Linked DNA regions of Homo sapiens: all the other regions are linked to region 1. Evidence: promoter capture Hi-C in 16 types of primary human blood cells and fetal thymus (Javierre and others, 2016). All regions are on one chromosome and are shown on one strand. Each heading gives the region's core, a stretch centred on a gene start or on the middle of the fragment in contact. The rest is flanking DNA. Distances are from core to core; before and after follow the strand shown.

Region 1 (3,843 bases), core at 706-3,205:
GAACCCCAAAGGAACCCACACAGATACAGAGCCTGTGATCCAGCTGTTGACCCTAATAAGGAAGGCTTCTTCTGTTGTCCGATAAAAAGTGAAATAAGTAGGCCGGGCACGGTGGTTCACACCTGTAATCTCAGCACTTTGGGAGGCTGAGGCGGGTGGATCACCTGAAGTCAGGAGTTCGAGACCAGCCCGGCCAACATGGCGAAACCCCATCTCTACTAAAAATACAAAAATTAGCCGGGTGTGGTGGCAGGCGCCTGTTAATCCCAGCTACTCAGGAGGCTGAGGCAAGAGAACTGCTTGAACCCAGGAGGCAGAGGTTGCAGTGAGCCAAGATCACGCCACTGCACTCCAGCCTGGGCGACAGAGCAAGACTCCATCTCAAAAACAAACAAACAAAAAAGTGAAGAAAGTACATCCTAGCTCTACTCAAAAGACTGTAGGAATCAGATACTAGCCACTGTCCAGAAGCCCTCAAACACACCTCAAGGCCAAAAAACACAGCACTTTTAAGTGGCAAGCGAGGGTGGTAAAGGTAGCCCAGAACACTGAAGAGCTACAGAAGTTCCCACAAACTGCACGGCTTTCCGTCCCTTCCTCCACTGTAGATAGCAAGGGTCAGTCATGGCCTCAGAGCCAGGCTACTCCTCGTTAAGGTACAGTCTCCGGCCTGTACTTTGGCCACATAACAAAGCTTGGTCTGAGACAGCAGCTATTTCACACACCTAAGCCCCAAGCAACAGACAAGGATCAGTCAATATGGTTGAGGGAACCTGCACTTTCTGGCATGTATCGGAATTCCTCAGGCTACAATTAAAAATCCAGAACTGCCATTGTGATCTTGACTTAGTCCTCAGTAATAAGTCCAAGCCCTGAAGGGATTGCAGACAGACCCTGGCGTGGTGTGGACCTGTTGCTCAGGGAGGTGTATGTGTGTGTGTTTGGGAGTGGGAAAGAGATGGCCCTTCAATTCCAGACTCCTCATTTTGGGTCTTATTCTCCTCCCTATAGACACACGGACAGCAGTCCCAAGAAAAGCAGTCCCTTTGAGGCGGCTGGGAAACCACTCACGTGCTCTGGGAGGACAGAGCTGAGCCTGGAGCAAGGGGGGAGGGGAAAGAAGATAATGAATGGGCACATCCACCCTGATCTGTGATCTGTAGCTAGGATTGAGCAAACCTCAGCTAAATTCTTCAGAGGCAGAAAGAGAGAGACACTCAAAGAACAACATAACTAGAGGACAGGGCTGGGAGACAGAAGGGGCAAAACAGGAAAACAGCTCATTTCTAGTAAGTGACTTTAAACTCAGCTGAGGTCCTGGTTGGTTCTCTGGCTTGAGGAAAGAGAGGAAGTAAGGAGTTGCGGGAGCGCACACACACTTCTGTGCGTGTGGAACGGTCTCACCCAGACGACCCCCCTCCCCCAAAGGAAATCGAGATATTCCTCTAGGGCTAGAGGGGACAACTGGTTTTGTGGGACAGGAGGAAGGAAAACGGCGACAGACAGCACTCCCTGTCACTTCTAAAAGAGAAGAGGGACAGGTTCCTTCACACCTAGCAAAGATCCTCCGATTCTGGAAGCAGGGGGAGCGGAACTTAGGGTACCTCTCTCCCACAACTAGAATGGACAGGCCAGAGGACAGTCATAGCGGTTTCCTTAAGGCTCACCAAAGGCAGGTAAGCTAAGGAAAGAAGCTCCCCACCTCCTATGGCCCGACGCCTGGGGAGCCCCTCAAGAGGGGGCTACGGGTCGGGGGAGGGGTCAGTATCCCCCTAAACTGGGGCTGGGCGGGAGGAAGGGCTGCCCTGGAGATGCTTCAACGCAGGCGAGACACCAGGTCCTGGGACAAGCATACTCACGGCGGCTCCGGGGCGGCGGCGTTACTTGGGGCCGGGGCTCGGACGGGATCCGCTTCTCTCCCCGCCGGCGGTGTCCCAGGCTCCGGCCTCCACTTCCGCCTTTCAGCCGCTCCGGATCCGGATCTCCACCTCCGCCCCGCCCCTCAATACTCCCAGGTGATTGACAGTGCGGAGACCAATGGGAGGCACTCTTGGCCGACCTACCCAGCGGCGCCGGTAGGAACGCGGGAGTGGCGGTAGGGAGCGCGCGAGGGATCGCGGGACTTGTAGTTCGCAGCGCTGGGAGGAGTCAGTGGCTGCCTGGGACTTGGGCTTAGGGTGGAGCCGGCTGACTGCGAGGCGGAGCCCGGCCGGAACTTTTTTTTTTTTTTTGAGACGGAGTCTTACTCTGTCGCCCAGGCTGGAGTGCAGTGGTGCGATCTCACTGCAACCTCTGCCTCCCGGGTTCAAGCGATTCTCCTGCCTCAGCCTCCCGAGGAGCTGGATTATAGGCACGCACCACCACGCCCGACTAATTTTTGTATTTTTTAGTAGAGACGGGGGTTTCGCCATGTTGGCCAGGCTGGTCTCGAACTCCTGACCTCAGGTGATCCGCCCTCTTCGGCCTCTCAAAGTGCTGAGATTACAGGCCTGAGCCACCGCGCCCAGCCTACGGCCGGGAACTTTTTAAGGCTAACCCTGCCATCCGCGTCACCGCCGGTTCCGGACGCCCCGAGGGAAGGCGGGTGGTGGAGCGTTGGAAGAAGGCAGAGGATTGTGTGTGCAGAATTGGGAAAGAAAAAACGTGGTGCGAATGAATATGCACGCGAGGCCTCAGTCCTGTGAACTCGCTGATCTGGAGAAGCCCTTGTCTGCACTGTCCGCCCGATTGCCAGGGGCGTCTGTGATTGGGAAGGTGAGGAAAGCGCTGCAGGAAGAGTTCTCTGCAGGATGCTGGGTGAGATCAAAGGGAGAGCTTCTGCCACCACCTCCTACTTGGTGTGTGCGGGGGCCGGCACAAAGACCATCTCTGCCTCTGCCTTCCCCTGCTCCTAGCCAGGGTCAGCTCTTCTCTCTGACGCGGAATACAGAGCTGGACAACCTCTGCCTCGGCCCTCTCCATCCGTAAATAAAGACTAGAACCACCCCCACTCTGCACTCTCCCCCTCTATGGATCAGGAATATTTGTTTTTTCTGCTCCTCTCAATATGGACTGGGCCCGCTCCTGATTCCTCCCACCCTTACCTCTCAACACAAACCAGTACCTCCTCTTCTTTTGCATCTCATCCTCAAGGGACACTACTGAAAACCTGTGTGGAATCAAAGCTCACCGGAGACAGCTGTGGCCATTGTGCCTATAACGCCAACACCAGGCATATCCTGGAGCCTCAGCTGGAGAATTTACCTGTCTTGGACAACCTGCCACAAAACTGTGCCCACATCTAGTTCCATCTGGTCATCAGGGCGTCTCTCTTTCTTACACCCATAACACACAATCCCCACTTCCGCGCCAGTGTTCATGAGAAGTGAAAAGGAAGAGGGAAGAGAGGGCTTGTTGGGAGGACAGAGGGGATGGGGCAGAGTGGGATTCCTAGCAGGTTCTGGCTGGTGACAAGCTCTTCCCCCAGCCCCCTTGCCATACCCAGTTCTGGAACAGTTCCTTATACAGGAGGGATGGGTAGTCCCCTAGGCCCACCTTTCCAAGGCTGGAGGTGGGCCAAAGCCAGGACTCTGTCCTTCCCACATACTGTGTGCATACATGGCTGTGACTGGGGTGCAGGGGAGAGAAGGGGGTATAATAGGCCCATAGTGACTAATTAAGTTTCTTCCTCAACCCTGGGGCCCCTGGTGGTGTGAATGTGGTGCCAAGTAGATTGGCTGGTGCCTCTGCCCTTCCTAGAGATAGCAACTGGGCCCTGGGGTACAACGAAGGTGAGGGTGGGGAGTGATTGCTGTGTTGGCTCCTCCAAAGCCCTGGGGCTCTCAGAGTAACCCCCAGAAACAC
Region 2 (3,843 bases), core at 622-3,121, 410 kb after region 1:
ATGTATTATAGATTTATTTATGGTGGCATGATTCCTGTCTGCAACCCCAAGACACACAGTACTCTATACCCCAGGATGGCAGGGACATTGTTTTGTTCACTGGTCCATCCCTGTGGGAGGCAGTAAAATACACATTTACTCAATAAAAATGACTCTGTATGTGGTGTGTCAGACTGTGTGTCCAGATGTCTTGGGACATTCTCTGGCAGCCTTTGCTGTTTGTGTCTTCAAATCAGACCCTATCTTTAAATCTAACATGTCTCCTGTGAGAAGCCTGGTCCCTTAATACCTTTGTGGCTCTACAACTCTTCCCTCCTTGACTGTATCTCTTCCTCCAGGTCTTTGCTGTTTTCCTGAATCACCTTATCTAAAATAGCATCTCCTTTTCTCCATCATAAGCCCAGGTTTTGTGGGGCTGGGGGCTTATTTGCTTTTGGAGACCGTCTTCAAGAATACAAAAGATAAACACAAAATTACATATAAAAGTGAGTTTTGTTTTTTTTTTTAAGTTTCGGATACCACGGCACATTACTGGAATCTTGGAGACTGGCTTCTCTCCCTTTTGATCTCCATGCACAACTTACCTGAGATGTATTCTAATAGCAACCTGGCTTCCCCTCCACACTCAGCCTTTCAAGCGCCCATTAGCTTCGCAGTAAATCTCCCACACTAGGTATCCAGCCTTTGCCTTTTTCTTTTTTCTTTTTTTTTTTCCAGAGGGAGTTTCGCTTTTTTTTTTTTTTTTTTTTTTTTGAGACGGAGTCTCACTCTGTCACCCAGGCTGGAGTGTAGTGGTGCGATCTCGGCTCACTGCAAGCTCTTCCTCCCGGGTTCACGCCATTCTCCTGCCTCAGCCTCCCGAGTAGCTGGGACTACAGGCGTCTGCCACCATGCCCGGCTAATTTTTTTTTGTATTTTTAGTAGAGACGGGGTTTCACCGTGTTAGCCAGGATGGTCTCGATCTCCTGACCTCGTGATCCGCCCGCCTCGGCCTCCCAAAGTGCTGGGATTACAGGCGTCAGCCACCGCGCCCGGCCGGGAGTTTCGCTCTTGTTGCCCAGGTTGGAGTGCAATGGCACAATCTTGGCTCACCGCGACCTCCGCCCACGGGTTCAGGCGATTCTCCTGCCTCAGCCTCCTGAGTAGCTGGGATTACAGCCATGCGCCACCACGCTCGTCTAATTTTGTATTTTTAGTAGAGACAAGGTTTCTCCATATTGGTCAGGTTGGTCTCGAACTCCCGACCTCAGATGCTCTGCCCACCTCGGCATCCCAAAGTGCTGGGATTACAGGCGTGAGCCACCGCGCCCAATCAGCCTTTGCCTTTTTCTCCTGTCCACAGAGACCCCGCAAACAAGCGCATCAGAGGATCTGGGTGGTGCGAGAGCCTCCTACAGCAGCCAGGTACACACAAGGCCTCAGTTTTTCCATCTGTGAAATGGGTACGTGGACAGACCTGTCCAGTAGCCTCCCATGTGAGAATCCTCGGACTGAGAGGGTACTAGGAGGGCTAATACAGCGCAGCCCTGTGATTCCCCACCTCTGTCCCTGGAATGAAGGAAATCTGGGTGTTAGTTCTGGCTTTGCCGATGCCTCTTGGGTGGCCTGGCTGAAACTAATCTCTCCTCATCAGGCCAGAAGGGAATCTGTGAAATGGGCTTTGAAACCTGCCTTGCCTTTCTCCGCCCGGTCCCAGCGGGGGTCCGATCGGCATCAAGGCTTCACCCACTCCCAGAGCCTTCGGGATCAGCCCCACCCCATCAGCAGGACACAGCCCATGCCACTGGAAATCTCGCGAGAATCCCGCGCTGAAGCGAAGTCGAGACGTTTGACCTTCCTCCGTTTCCGTAGTTCCGAGTTGCGGTTTCTCCGTTAGTGCTTCCGGGTTGCAGCCAGGGAAGCCTCCGCGGTGGTGCAAGTGGAACCCAAGCCTTGAGGTTTCAGTGAGTAGGGGGCCGACGTGAGCTTTAGCGTCCCCCTTTAGCCTCCCTCTTCGATTCCTTGAAGACCCTGGTGCAGCTTAGCAAGAGGGCCCAGGATTTTTGGATCCCCAGCCCTGTGACAAGGGTTCCTGTCCAGTTTCCCCCTCCCAGGATTTCGACTCAGTTCAGCGAAGTCACCGCCCCGTCTGAGAAATGAGGACACCAAGGCTTAGAGCACAGCCCCGAGGCGCCGTCTACCAGGCCCCGTCCCCTCCCCCGGCTCCTGTCGGTCAGCACTGAAACCCCGTCCCTGCTCCAGGCCTCCTTCTCTGGGGTCCAAGGTCCCATACAGGCCTCTGCCTCGGCCGCAGGCCCTTCAGTCACCGTCGCCTCGTCTCCCTGACTGTCCGCAGGCCTGGGCAGCATGGCCGTATTCCGGTCGGGTCTCCTGGTGCTGACGACGCCGCTGGCCTCCCTAGCCCCTCGCCTGGCCTCCATCCTGACCTCGGCGGCCCGGCTGGTGAATCACACACTCTATGTTCACCTGCAGCCGGGCATGAGCCTGGAGGGCCCGGCTCAGCCCCAGTCCAGCCCCGTGCAGGCCACGTTTGAGGTTCTTGATTTCATCACGCACCTCTATGCTGGCGCCGACGTCCACAGGCACTTGGACGTCAGAATCCTACTGACCAATATCCGAACCAAGAGCACCTTTCTCCCTCCCCTGCCCACCTCAGTCCAGAATCTCGCCCACCCGCCAGAAGTCGTGTTGACAGATTTCCAGACCCTGGATGGAAGCCAGTACAACCCGGTCAAACAGCAGCTAGTGCGTTACGCCACCAGCTGTTACAGCTGTTGTCCGCGACTGGCCTCGGTGCTGCTATACTCCGATTATGGGATAGGAGAAGTGCCCGTGGAGCCCCTGGATGTCCCCTTACCCTCCACGATCAGGCCAGCTTCCCCCGTGGCCGGGTCTCCAAAGCAGCCGGTGCGTGGCTACTACCGTGGCGCTGTCGGTGGCACGTTTGACCGCCTGCACAACGCCCACAAGGTGTTGCTCAGTGTCGCGTGCATCCTGGCCCAGGAGCAGCTTGTGGTGGGAGTAGCAGACAAAGATCTGTTGAAGAGTGAGTAAGAGGGACCCTGGACTAGGGTGGAGGATCCCCAAATCTCCCCACCCCCGACCCTTATGCCGAGATCAAGGAAGGGTAGGGCCATTCATTACTTCCCACCCTTCCCAAATGTCACAGTGGTTGACACTCAATTGGTGCTAAGGCCATTTTGTCAAATGAACAGCTTTCTCAGCATGTGGTCCAGTCACCACTCAATCAGAATACCCCAAATGTGAAGCAAAGGGATCTGCATTTTAGCAAGTTTTCCAGGTGATACACCCTAATGAGACACTGGGAATGAATGGGTGAGTGAGCTGCAGGTAGCAGTGCCACAGACAGGAGGAGGAAACTCAAGCATGGCATGGGTCTTGGAATTTTCCATCTGCCTCTGATGCCCTCTGGCACTGCTCGTTCTCTGGAGTGGTTTCCTGGTGGCTTATTCTCTGGACACATGCCAGCCCTTGGAGTGACTATTGTGCTTGCCTGTTTCTTCACCTTCATGCTCCCCTCACCATCACCATAGGCCTTACCAGTTGAACCCTTTCTGCCACCCCCTCTGGGGATACTGTACTTAGGGACACTTTTTCCCAAACTGGCCCATACTCTCCTCCCCAATAAAAAGATCTCACTGTTCTTCTGGGCTCCTTCCCCAGGCAAGTTGCTCCCTGAGCTGCTCCAACCTTATACAGAACGTGTGGAACATCTGAGTGAATTCCTGGTGGACATCAAGCCCTCCTTGACTTTTGATGTCATCCCCCTGCTGGACCCCTATGGGCCCGCTGGCTCTGACCCCTCCCTGGAGTTCCTGGTGG
Region 3 (3,843 bases), core at 571-3,070, 370 kb after region 1:
CTGGAAGAGATGATAGAGACACTCATCTGGCGTCCTGAGGCTCTCCTCACAGCTGTTGAATTCTAGAGGTGCATTTCAGTGTCTTGGGGCATGGCAAGACTTTGGAGGCTCCCTGAGCAGAGCAGTGGAGATGCCCAAAAAGAAGGAAGAACCTAGGATGGCAGATGGGGCCCCCCTTGCCCTGGGGAACTTCATGTTTGTACTTTCTCAGGAAGCACACATTTCCCCAGTTCAGCGGGAGAGAGTGGGGAGACTAGCAGGGAAATTGCTTTCCAGCTTTGTGCTGGGTGGTTGGGGTGAGGGTGGCCACGGAAGGAGGTGAAATCAGGCTGACCTCAAGATAGACCCAAGATGTCCCAGTTCTGGCCGCTCTAAGTCTCTAAAGCAGCAGCTGGTGGGAGGGGCAGTATTGGGCAGTATGTCAGGGAGGCCACCTGTCTGCTCACACAGTACAATTGATGTGCCCCTCCCAGGCATATATCCCTCTTCCTCCTTGCTGGGCCCCCATGGGTAGATAAGGTGACTGGAGGGGTGCCAAGAAAAGGGCGGTGCCCCCACAGGCATCTGAAAACAAAGCTGCTGCTCCATTTGCCCAGTTTGAAGATTAGAATGGTTTTGTGATTAGCCAGGAGGGGGTGGGGGTCAGAGTTCTGGACACCTCACTGGAGTCGGGGGTCAGCATACCCTACCAAGGCTGACATTCACTCCTAGGTAATGGCCTGGGACCCTCAGGTGACTTGTCCACTCTCTGGCTATGTATTGTTGAATGAAAAGGGGACATGTAAATCTCGTTTCAGCTGTTCTGAAATAACCCTTGCCACATGGGAACACAGTCTATTCAACATGAAGAATTCAAACCTAACACAAGTGGGTGAGAAGCAGGAACCCACTGCTAGGCCCCACCGCGTTCCCTCAGAGGTGGTCTCAGTAGCTGGAACTTGGAGAAGTAGTTTTGGTGGGGTGTTGGGACGTGGGTGAATCCAGGTCCTGGTTTGGAATTGCTCTGGTGGGAACCGTCAGCTAACGTCAGTTGGAAGCTCTGTGTCCTCCCCCTCCTGAGTCCTGTTTTTCCTGGAGGACCTTGGCCCACCCCTGTGGAATGTGGGGATGTGGGGAAGAAAGCTGACTGCTTTTACTCCCACTCAGAAAATTCGGTTGCGCTCTTCTTCAAGGGGGTGCTCCTCAGCCTGCACCCCAGTGAAGGGGCCTCTGAGGAACTCCCAGTGCCACTGGCAAACAGTCTGTAACCTTTGGGCCCCAGCCACCTCCCAGCCCCTGTTCTCTTAATTCCTGCCTTCTTGGCTTGGAGGGAGGAATCTCCATTTGTAAAAGCTGAGTTAGGGAACTAGAGGGTTCCTGAAGCTTTAAAGCGCCTCAAAGCCCTCACCCTGCACGTGACCTGTCACCTGGAGCCTGCCCCAGCCCCCACGCCTGCCTGTTCTTATAGGGGCTCCGGTGCCTCCAGGGTCACACAGCACCATGTGGAAACTATTCCTCAGGGCAGCTCTCCTTGGCCTTTTTATCCCCTGAATCATGCATTTTTCTGCCCTTATTTGGTGTGGTTTGGTTGCTGGGCAGCTGTCCAGGGTGAGTTTGCAGGAGGAAGCACAGCCAAGCAGCCTCGCTCTGCTTATGGGACAGTCTTCCTCCCACCCTCCCTGAGAGTGAAAGGGCCCCACAGAGACCATCAGGCATGGATGCTGAACTGCTGGGAAGGGAGCTCAGGCTTTTTCTTTTTAGTCCCCAAGAGAAGAATTCTTTCTCAGATGTTTTTGTGGTTGGAGAATATTTTTGCCATTGCTTTGAGAAGACTTCCCCTCCTAACTCCCCCTCTTTCCTTGGAATTTCCTTCCTTAAATGGAAAGCCTTCAACATTCACTCCAAGCTCGCCCTTTTGCTCCCCCAAGGAAAAATAACAAGCAAACAGAGGTGCTTGCCCAGTGTCTCTGGAGGGGCTTCCCTTAGAGGTGGGCTGTGTGATCCCCTGCCAGGAGGGGGCGATGGGGGCCACTTGTTCATTAACGATGTTAGGCTCAAGGTAACTGAACTTTTTTTGCACATGCCTCTCTGCAGAGAGTTGTGCATAAACACACTGCTCGGCAGGACAGAGCAAGATTGGGAACTGAGGGCAAATCCCTTCCTCCGTGCGTCGAACTCTTGATCCCAGGCCTTAAAAGTGGGATCTCTGCACTCTGGGCTTTCTCTAGCTTCCCCAGGGAAGGGAGGCTCGGGGTGAGGTGGGCACGGGGCATCTTTCCTGCCCAACTGTGAAGTCCTAAAAAGCTTCACAAAGTTTCTATTGAATGACAGCTTTCTTCTTCTCTTTCTCCAGGGTTGAGTTCCAGAATAAATTCTACAGCGGGACCGGTTTCAAGTTCTTACCCTTCTCCTTCGAGCATATTCGGGAAGGGAAGTTTGAAGAGTGAGTCCCTGTGAGGGCCGTGTGCCCCATGCTACCCTCCCCGCCTCCCTCCACAGTGATCAGCTGTGCCTCTCTGCCTGTTGGTTGTGATCTGTGGGCACCAGCTCATTCGTGTCACCCTGTCTGTGAGTCATTTAGATAGAATAGTCCTCCTTGGGTCTCCCACCACCCCTAGCTTTGTGTGTAGTGTAGTGATTTTCTGGCTGTCACTCATACTCACTGGGCACCAGCCTTGCCCTCTTAGCCTCCATCCATCCAGACAGCCCTTCCCACCTCCTGGTGGTGAGCCAGTCTGCATTCCCACGCCATCCCAAAGCCCTTTCATCTTCCCCGTGCATTGTAGATGGAAGGAGCACCCATGCCATTCACATCTAGACTTTGAGTTCCCTGCATCTGCCACCGTAGTTTCTAGCAGGAGTAGTGGGGGGAGTAATACAGATTCTTCCCTAGAAGGGGACACTGGTAACATGTCCCACTCTTGGATTAGCAGGGGTGGGTCCAGGAAGATGATATTTGCGTCTTTTGCCCACCCCCCTGGCATTCAGCTGGACCCAACTAGGCCATCATGAGTGGCTTCTCCCTGTCATCCCCAGGGGTCATAGGATATCTACACCGCCTTTCTGACCCCACCCTGCACTCCCATCCTTTCCTCTCTCCCCGTTCATGCCCTGCACTACATAGCACAGCCGGGATGCTTGGAACAGAGGCCTTGGCTGCTCCGCAGTGCACAGGGCTTCCCTCTCTCGGGGTTGGCTTCTTCCCAGGCCTTGCATGGGCCCTGCCCACAAGCACACCCTCAGGCCGAGGGTGCAGACTGATGCTCTTCCCTGATGGAGACCCTGAGATCTTCCCCACCCCCAATCATGATGTCTTCAGTGTGGGACTGGGGTCCTCTTGGTTCTGCCTGCAGCCTGCCTGGCTCCGCCCCTAGTGCCCCCTCCTCACCACACTGGCCCCAGGTCTCAGGAGGGGTGTCCTGGGCAGGGAAGGTCAGTGTCACTGATGGTTTGCTGTTTGGAAGCCATTGGCAGGGCTGCCGTGCATGTGGCTGTGAGGGCTGCACAGTCCTGCCAAGGGGCTTCCTCCTTGTCACCCCGAACCTTGTAATCGTGTGCTGGCGTGGCAGCCCTGGCTAAGTTAATCCCCACCGCTTTCAGTGGTAGAAAGAATTCCCTGAGTGGGCCAGGCTGGTGCCCTCCTCCTACCCTGGCTTTTCTGAGTGAGCTGCCTGGAGCCCTCATCCCCTCTCCCAGGCTGGGCTGGCCCTGGGCGGGGCCACTGTGTGCTGGCCCACTGTGACCTGACCCGACCTTGTGCAGCCCCCCTGCCCTGGTGTCCTGGGTTTTCGTGATGATCTTTGCTCTGTTTCCAGTGGGGTTTGAAGCAGAGTTCAGGGAACCCTGCCCAAGGTCCTCCTGTTC
Region 4 (3,843 bases), core at 772-3,271, 340 kb after region 1:
AGGCCAAGGCGGGCGGATCATGAGGTCAAGAGATCGAGACCTTCCTGGCTAACATGGTGAAAACCCCACCTTGCAATAGGCCGAGATTTCACCACTGCACTCCAGCCTGGGTGACAGAGCGAGAGTTCATCTCAAAAAAAAAAGAAAAAAAAAAAAAGCCTTACTGGCCGGGCGCAGTGACTCAAGCCTGTAATCCAAGCAGTTTGGGAGGCCGAGGCAAGCCTCAGGCCAGACCTGAGGTCAGGAGTTTGAGACCAGCCTGGCCAACATGGTGAAACCCCATCTCTACTAAAAATACAAAATTAGCTGGGCATCGTGGCCTGTGCCTGTAATCCCAGCTACCTGGGAGGCTGAGGCAAGGCAGGAGGTGGAAGTTGCAGTCAGCGAGATCATGAACACTGCACTCCATCCTGGGCAAAAAGAGCGAAATTCCATCTCAATAAATAAATAAATAAATAAATAAGTCTTTTCCTTTTAGACATCCACACTGAAATATTTACAGGTAAAATGACATGATATCTGGACTTTTTAGTAATGTGGAGATGAGTGAGTGGCAGTAATCTTTTTTCATGACTATAAGGTGATGTTAATTTTTGAAGCATTCTCCTCAAAAGCAAGATTAAAAAAAAAAATTTTGTCGAAGCAGAGTGATAGGTGCCTGGGAGTTTGTTGTACCATCCTGTCTGCTTAAGTATCTGTTTAGAATTTTCCATAATAAATAATATTGATTAATAAATAAAAATTGTCGACCGGGCGCGGTGGCTCACGCCTGTAATCCCAGCACTTTGGGAGGCTGAGGCGGGCGAATCACGAGGTCATGAATCGAGACCATCCTGGCTAACACGGTGAAACCCTGTCTCTACTAAAAATACAAAAAAATAGCTGGGCGTGGTGGCAGGCACCTGTAGTCCCAGCTACTTGGGAGGCTGAGGCAGGAGAATGGCGTGAACCCGGAAGGCAGAGCTTGCAGTGAGCTGAGATCACGCCACTGCACTCCAGCCTGGGTGACAGAGCGAGACTCGTCTCTAAATAAATAAATAAATAAAAATTGTTTTTTAAACAGAGGAATATTTTTCCCTTTGAGAATTCTTTATAATACCTATTTGTTTTCTCGGGTTATGACAGATTTGGAACATTGCTACCAATAAACTGACGTTCTTGAACTCCTTTAAGATGAAGATGTCTGTTATCCTTGGTATCATCCATATGCTGTTTGGAGTCAGCCTGAGTCTGTTCAACCATATGTGAGTTGTTCCATTTCTGTCATAAGAATGTGCATAGTTTAGAGAATGCTTTTGTGTAAAGAAATCATGACATCTTTGGGGAGGGATTAATAACTCAGAACCTCATTCTACATTATAGAAGTGCTTTTCTAAAAATTTAATGGTGTGGCCAGGCGCGGTGGATCATGCCTGTAATCCCAGTACTTTGGGAGGCCAAGGCCGGTGGATCACCTGAGGTCAGGAGTTCGAAACCAGCCTGGCCAACACGATGAAACCCCGTCTCTACTAAAAATACAAAAATCAGCCAGGTGTAGTGGCACGCGCCTATATTCCCAGCTATTCGGGAGGCTGAGGCAGGAGAATTGCTTGAACCTGGGAGGCAGAGGTCGCAGTGAGACAAGATGGCACCACTGCACTCCAGCCTGAGCGACAGAGTGAGACTCTGCCTCAAAAAAAATAAATAAATAAATAAATTTCATGGTCTGGCCGGGTGCAGTGGCTTACACTTGTAATCCAGCACTTTGGGAAGATGAGGCGGGCAGATCACTTGAGGTCAGGAGTTCAAGACCAGCCTGGCCCACATGGTGAAACTCCGTCTCTACTAAAAATACAAAAAATTAGCCGGGTGTGGTGGCGTGCACCTGTAATCCCAGCTACTCTGGTGGCTGAGGCAGGAGAATTGCTTGAACCCAGGAGGCAGAGGTTGCAGTAAACCAAGATAACACCACTGCACTCCAGTCGGGGTGACAGAGCAAGACTCCATCTCAAAAAAAAAAAAAATGTTGATGGTCTTAAATTAGACTTAATATTAGTCCTTTAACAATTTACTGTTCCAGTAAAGATCCTTGAAAAAAACTTGAGCAATTTTCATCAAAATAAGTGAGGTCTCTTTTTTTCCTTGATGTGCAACTCACATAAAATTATTAGCTGTGGACTGGGTGTGGGGGCTCACACCTGTAATGCCAGCACTTTGGGAGGCCAAGGCAGGCGGATCACTTGAGCCCAAGAGTTCAAGACAAGCCTGGGTAACACGGCAAAAGACCCCATCTCTACAAAAAAAAAAAAAAAAAAAAGTTATGAACTGTGGTCTCAAAATGTACTAGATTTTTCCATTCTCTTTCTCATGGAGAGAATGGTGGGGATGGTATTGGAGCCGTTCAAGGTTCAAAAGTTTAAGGCCTGGCACAATGGCTCACATCTGTCATCCTGCACTTTGGGAGGCCAAGGCGGGCAGATCACCTGATGTCAGGAGTTCAAGACCAGTCTGGGCAACATGGCAAAACCCCATCTCTACAAAAAAATGTAAAAATTAGCTGGGTGTGGTGGCGCATGCCTGTAGTCCCAGCTACTCGAGAGGCTGAGGTAAGAGGATTGCCTAAGCCCAGGGAGGTTAAGACTGCGGTGAGCCAATATTGCACCACTGTACTCCAGGCTGGGTAGCAGAGTGAGACCCTGTCTCAAAAAAGAAAAAGCAACAGCAAAACAAAACCAAGGTTCAAAAGTTTGACCGTGATAGTTAATCCTGCATTGTCTCTGTTGTCTCCAGCTTCTGGTTGCTGCTGCTTAAAGTGATAAAGACAGAATTGAGGGGGTATTAAGTAGAAAAATCTAGTGAATACTCCATTCAGTGTAGGAGTGGCCCTAGGCCCATTTACCCTTAACATTTTTTTCTCTCTCCTTTTTAGCTATTTCAAGAAGCCCCTGAATATCTACTTTGGATTTATTCCTGAAATAATCTTCATGACCTCTTTGTTTGGCTATTTGGTTATCCTTATTTTTTACAAGTGGACGGCCTATGATGCTCATACCTCTGAGAATGCACCAAGCCTTCTGATCCATTTCATAAACATGTTCCTCTTTTCCTACCCAGAGTCTGGTTATTCAATGTTGTATTCTGGACAGGTACGTCAGCCCAGAGGCAGACTGTCTGAGATGATTATACTTGATCAGGAAGCCAGATGTTTCTCTGACCCTAAAAAATTTATAACTGCCCTTCTATGGGACAATTCTAGGGCTTTGCCACAAAATGTGATAATTATTTTGAGAAATTGGATAGTGTTATTCATAGATTAGTAAGAAAGTACTGTTGGGGGAAATTTGTGCCATATTTGGAAACTGCGTATGTGATCGGTAGACTTTTATATGATGTACCTTGTCCTTCTTCTTACTCTGCAGAAAGGAATTCAGTGTTTCCTGGTAGTGGTTGCACTACTGTGTGTACCTTGGATGCTGCTGTTTAAACCATTGGTCCTTCGCCGTCAGTATTTGAGGAGAAAGCATTTGGTAGGTGTATTTCTATTGCTAAAAGTTACTAGACTTTTGTTTTGTTCAAGATCAAGGCAATTCCCCAGTGGATATAATTAATTGTGCACAAATCTATATATTCTTTTTCTTTTTCTTTTTCTTTTTTTGAGACGGAGTCTCGCTCTGTCCCCCAGGCTGGGGTGCAGTGGTACGATCTTGGCTCACTGCAACCTCCACCTCCCAGGTTCAAGCAATTCTTTTGCCTCAGCCTCCTGTGTCACTGGGATTATAGGTGTACGCCACCACACCTGGCTAATTCTTGTATTTTTAGTAGAGACGGGGTTTCACCATGTTAGCCAGGCTGGTTTCGAACTCC
Region 5 (3,843 bases), core at 491-2,990, 290 kb before region 1:
TCCAGGCCCCTGCTAAATAAAGCAGGCTCCACTGCCAGCTGTCTGTACACTTTTTCTTGGGGGAAGAGATCTTGTCTTCAGTTTACTGCAGTAGGGTTCCTGGCTCTGTTACATGCTCATGTGTTCCGGAAGAACATATGAAATATCATCCCACGGATGACGATACAGCCCCTGCTTCAGCCTCTTCTGATCAAGATAGTGTCCTAAAATGAAGCAAACACATCTTTTTTATTAGAGCTTCATAAGCCTGGTGAGAGGAAGAGGCTAAGGAAGGGAAATCTTTCTAACACACAAAAAAAGTAGACACAAAGCAGTGGGAAGTTTAGTCCAAATCCACTGTATAGGTAGATGAGGCGGACTTTGTACAAGGGAGCTGCTGGATCTGATTCTATTTTCCTTTAAATTAAAACAAAATTTTAAAGGGAAAAAATAAAATAAAATAAATAATAAAAATAGGCCGGGCACGGTGGTTCACGCCTGTAATCCCAGCACTTTGGGAGGCCGAGGTGGGCAGATCACGAGGTTGGGAGATCGAGACCATCCTGGCTAACATGGTGAAACCCCGTCTCTACTAAAAATACAAAAAATTAGCCAGGCGTGGTGGCATGCGCCTGTAGTCCCAGCTGCTTGGGAGGCTGAGGCAGGAGAATCGCTTGAACCCGGGAGGCAGAGGTTGCAGTGAGCTGAGACCGCGCCACTGCACTCCAGCCTGGTGACAGAGCAAGACTCAGTCTCAAAAAAAAAAAAAAAAATTTTCCTGGGCTAGCAATCATTTCTAAGAACAAAGGAACAATGATAAAGATAAGGGGAAAGGTTAAAGTAAGAAAGGAAAGATTAAGAACAATGATTAAGAGGATATGACATTTCTTCTGTAGAAACTGAACCACAAAAAGAAAATTAAAAAAAAAAAAAAAGAAAGAAAAAGAAACTCAACCCCATGAGTAAGTGGTGTAGCTGAACCGTGGGGTTTAAAAAAAAACACTTAAAACAACAACGAATGGACTCACCAATGAACCCCATACTCCTTCCCAGCACAAAGATGCCATTGAGGGCTCCAATGTCAATATATTCATCAGCTTCCTCCCTGCAACACACATCAACTTGTAGTTTTAAAAGGCTCACGTGACTGCCCTCCTCCCCACAGACAGTACTACTACTGCCCAAGAATGAGAAGAAAAGGGGTGCTCTGGGTGGTAGCATTACAGGCAATTTTTGTTTTCTTCTTTATACCTCTCCTTATTTTTCAAATATTCTATTATGAGTATGCATTACTTTTATAGTTTGGAGGAAACAACAAAAATCAACAAACGTAATGAAGAAGAAAACAGCTACAATGCTCACCGAGTAAAGGACCCACAGTTTCTAAGCATGTCTACAAATGCGACTCCGATGAGACCATCTACATTCAGGATAAGATTTGGCTTCTGGGAAGGCAAAAAAATTCAAAGCATTTATCATTATTTCTCATTTTTTCTTCATAATTTTCCACTGTCACTACTATTACTACGAATTGTGACCATCATTTAAAAACCTTCTACCAGCCCCACTGGTCGACACTGTGTCTGACTCAGTTCAATTCCCAGCATCTAGCAAAGTACCCAACACCTAGTTGACATTTAGTGCATGTCTGTTAAATTTAGTTATGAAACAAAAATAACATTTCTAGAAAACTAGGTTTGCTTTTAGCTGCATAATCAAAATGTAACGTGGCTCCTGTTTCCTCCAATAAACTTGTCCAACGTGAGGGAATTAGGAAGTTTTTTCTTTGTTACCTTCGAGGTGGTAATCTTCTCTACTTCCAGTGCATAATCGAGCAGAGGAGTGGCAGGGAAGTGCTGCCTGACGTAATCTTTGAGGATCTGCACTCGCATGTCTGGGTTGTTTATCTAGAAATGAACCCAACGGTACAGAGGAACACTCACACACTGCTGGGATGTGTTTGTTCATACTTGTGTTACAGGTAGGTAGAACTGGACATATCCCAGCGGCGATTCAGGAACCTGGCCCACGTGTACCATTCCATGTGGCACCAATTGTGCTAATGCCATGAGGCTGGCTTTTGAAGTCCTCTCATATCTCAATTGGGACACAAAACAACCTTGGTAGGTTCTCACTTTTAAGTTGCAAAGAAGAAACTGAGCCCTGAGATGTTCAGGGAACTGGCCAGGTCCTACAGTGTTGAGCAGCAGAGGTCTGAAAGTTAACCACTCTCCAACTCAAGAGTCTTAGGTTCCAGCCTCCAGCCATGCCCCCGCCAGCTCTGTGCCTACTCAAGCTGTGACAAAGTTCAACACTAAACAAACACGTGTTTAGTGTGGGGAGGCAAAGTATTCCCAAAATTTTAGGGAAAACTCTAGACCTGCTGTGAATGAAATTAACCACCTGTCAGTTGGGGAGGAAGATGATCTAGGGACATACCAAATCGAATACCAAAGCAACTTCAGCCCTCAGCAAAAGAGATAGCTGGGTCAGTACATCCTCTAGAAAGCGGGGAGCTCAAAGAGTGAATGAGTGAGTGTGGAGTGCAAGTCTAGCATTATCTTAGAAAGAGGCTCTGTGCTGTACATAGGCATGTTGTTATATGCTCAGGAGCTGGGGCTGGCTGAGCAAAGTCAAGCAAGTCCTGGATGGAATGTCCCTCAGAGCCACCCACCTTCCCTGCTTGGTTCTGAGCTGGTCCTTGCTCATCAAGCAACCTCTGGGTATCACCTGAGATGGCCAAGTGTTTGGCTGCCTAGAAGGTGGTGTCCTGAATCACATGCATGACCTTCATGTTAATACTCCCCACCTAGGCCAGTGGAGTGACCAAATAAATGAGGTTGCTGGAGCTACAGAGCCAAGGAGCCCAGGGTAAAGGGATCTGCTAAGGAGCTGTCCCCATAAGGCCCTGAGCAGCTGCCAGTGACCTCATCTCTTGCTCTTTGGTTTCTAACCAAAGCACAATATAAGGACATAGAAATGACCGGCCCTGTGTGAGACTATATAAACTGTTTCAAATATTTACTGTCCTTTCCCACTGGTCTCTCCCAATCAGATATGCCTTGATATTGTCACTCTTCCTGCCCCAGTGATGTCACAAATAACCACTTGACTTGCGGTGGCCAATGAAATGTGAGTGAAGGTGAATCATGTAAGGCTTTAAGAGCCTGCACGTGGTCCTGCCATTGCTGTTATCCTGCTGACGTGAGGCCAGCACATCCCAGACGGCGGCTGTTCTTTCGGCACAGATGGCAGAGAACAGGCACAGCAAACCCTCAGTGGATGTAGTGTGAATGAGACATAAACCTTTGCTGTGGTAAGCCACTGAGATTTTTGGAGTTGTCTGTTACTGCGGAATGAGGTATTATCTAGCCGAAGGTGACCAATATGTCCCCTCAACCTGACCTTGGCCCTTTTACCCATAAGATTCATTTGGGAAACCAAAGTTACCAAGTTTTCCATCTCATTTCAACTGCTATTTCCATACTGCAAGCGAACGACAGAAAAACTGTTAAGGGCAATCTGTATTATAACATGGAAAAAATAGCTGCTTTGTATTTGGCATCTGTCAACACATCCAAAGCTTTGTATGTTGGAGTTGAAAGCTTAGGTATTCTCCCAAATAAATTAATGCCCCCACTATCACCACCCACCCAGTAGATCCATCCCACTTTTTTTTTTTTTTTTTTGAGATGGAGTTTCACTCTTGTTGCCCAGACTGGAGTGCCATGGCACAATCTCGGCTCACCACAACCTCCACTTCCCGGGTTCAAGCAATTCTCCTACCTCAGCCTCCTGAGTAGCTGGGATTACAGGCATGCACCACCACGCCTGGCTAATTTTTTTGTATTTTTAGTAGAGACG

The links. Contacts are between HindIII fragments. The CHiCAGO score rates a contact against its expected background, and 5 or more counts as called.
Region 2: a contact is called between the fragment with the promoter of COASY here and the fragment with the promoter of RAB5C in region 1, in 2 of 17 cell types (neutrophils and naive CD4 T cells). The highest score is 7.4, in neutrophils.
Region 3: a fragment that was not itself captured here is called in contact with the fragment with the promoter of RAB5C in region 1 in 2 of 17 cell types (fetal thymus and endothelial precursors); the score reaches 5.6 in fetal thymus.
Region 4: a contact is called between a fragment that was not itself captured here and the fragment with the promoter of RAB5C in region 1, in 1 of 17 cell types (activated CD4 T cells). The highest score is 5.9, in activated CD4 T cells.
Region 5: a contact is called between a fragment that was not itself captured here and the fragment with the promoter of RAB5C in region 1, in 2 of 17 cell types (erythroblasts and monocytes). The highest score is 5.6, in erythroblasts.

The regions. Positions count from the first base shown.
Region 1 is chr17:42,153,034-42,156,876 of GRCh38, forward strand. RAB5C (RAB5C, member RAS oncogene family) reads right to left here and starts at 1,956. Exons shown (of 6, transcript NM_004583.4): 1 at 1,860-1,956. RAB5C-AS1 (RAB5C antisense RNA 1) reads left to right here and starts at 1,367. Exons shown (of 3, transcript NR_187282.1): 1 at 1,367-1,676; 2 at 1,966-2,075; 3 at 2,735-3,843. RefSeq lists enhancers at 1,408-2,028, 1,938-2,232, 2,115-2,224. The HindIII fragment of the contact is 7,588 bases long and covers 693-3,843 here.
Region 2 is chr17:42,560,277-42,564,119 of GRCh38, forward strand. COASY (Coenzyme A synthase) reads left to right here and starts at 1,872. Exons shown (of 9, transcript NM_025233.7): 1 at 1,872-3,046; 2 at 3,685-3,843. The coding sequence starts at 2,347. RefSeq lists enhancers at 1,948-2,197, 2,208-2,397. The HindIII fragment of the contact is 14,901 bases long and covers 1-3,843 here.
Region 3 is chr17:42,518,695-42,522,537 of GRCh38, forward strand. It overlaps ATP6V0A1 (ATPase H+ transporting V0 subunit a1), which reads left to right. Exons shown (of 22, transcript NM_001130021.3): 22 at 2,333-3,843. The coding sequence ends at 2,426. Among named protein-coding and RNA genes, the nearest start is that of MIR5010, 6.4 kb to the left of the region's middle. The HindIII fragment of the contact is 921 bases long and covers 1,361-2,281 here.
Region 4 is chr17:42,497,799-42,501,641 of GRCh38, forward strand. It overlaps ATP6V0A1 (ATPase H+ transporting V0 subunit a1), which reads left to right. Exons shown (of 22, transcript NM_001130021.3): 15 at 1,126-1,244; 16 at 2,909-3,125; 17 at 3,399-3,506. Among named protein-coding and RNA genes, the nearest start is that of MIR548AT, 4.9 kb to the left of the region's middle. The HindIII fragment of the contact is 9,207 bases long and covers 1-3,843 here.
Region 5 is chr17:41,867,702-41,871,544 of GRCh38, forward strand. It overlaps ACLY (ATP citrate lyase), which reads right to left. Exons shown (of 29, transcript NM_001096.3): 26 at 1,773-1,886; 27 at 1,342-1,424; 28 at 1,008-1,084; 29 at 1-203. The coding sequence ends at 109. Among named protein-coding and RNA genes, the nearest start is that of KLHL11, 4.2 kb to the left of the region's middle. The HindIII fragment of the contact is 3,639 bases long and covers 1-3,560 here.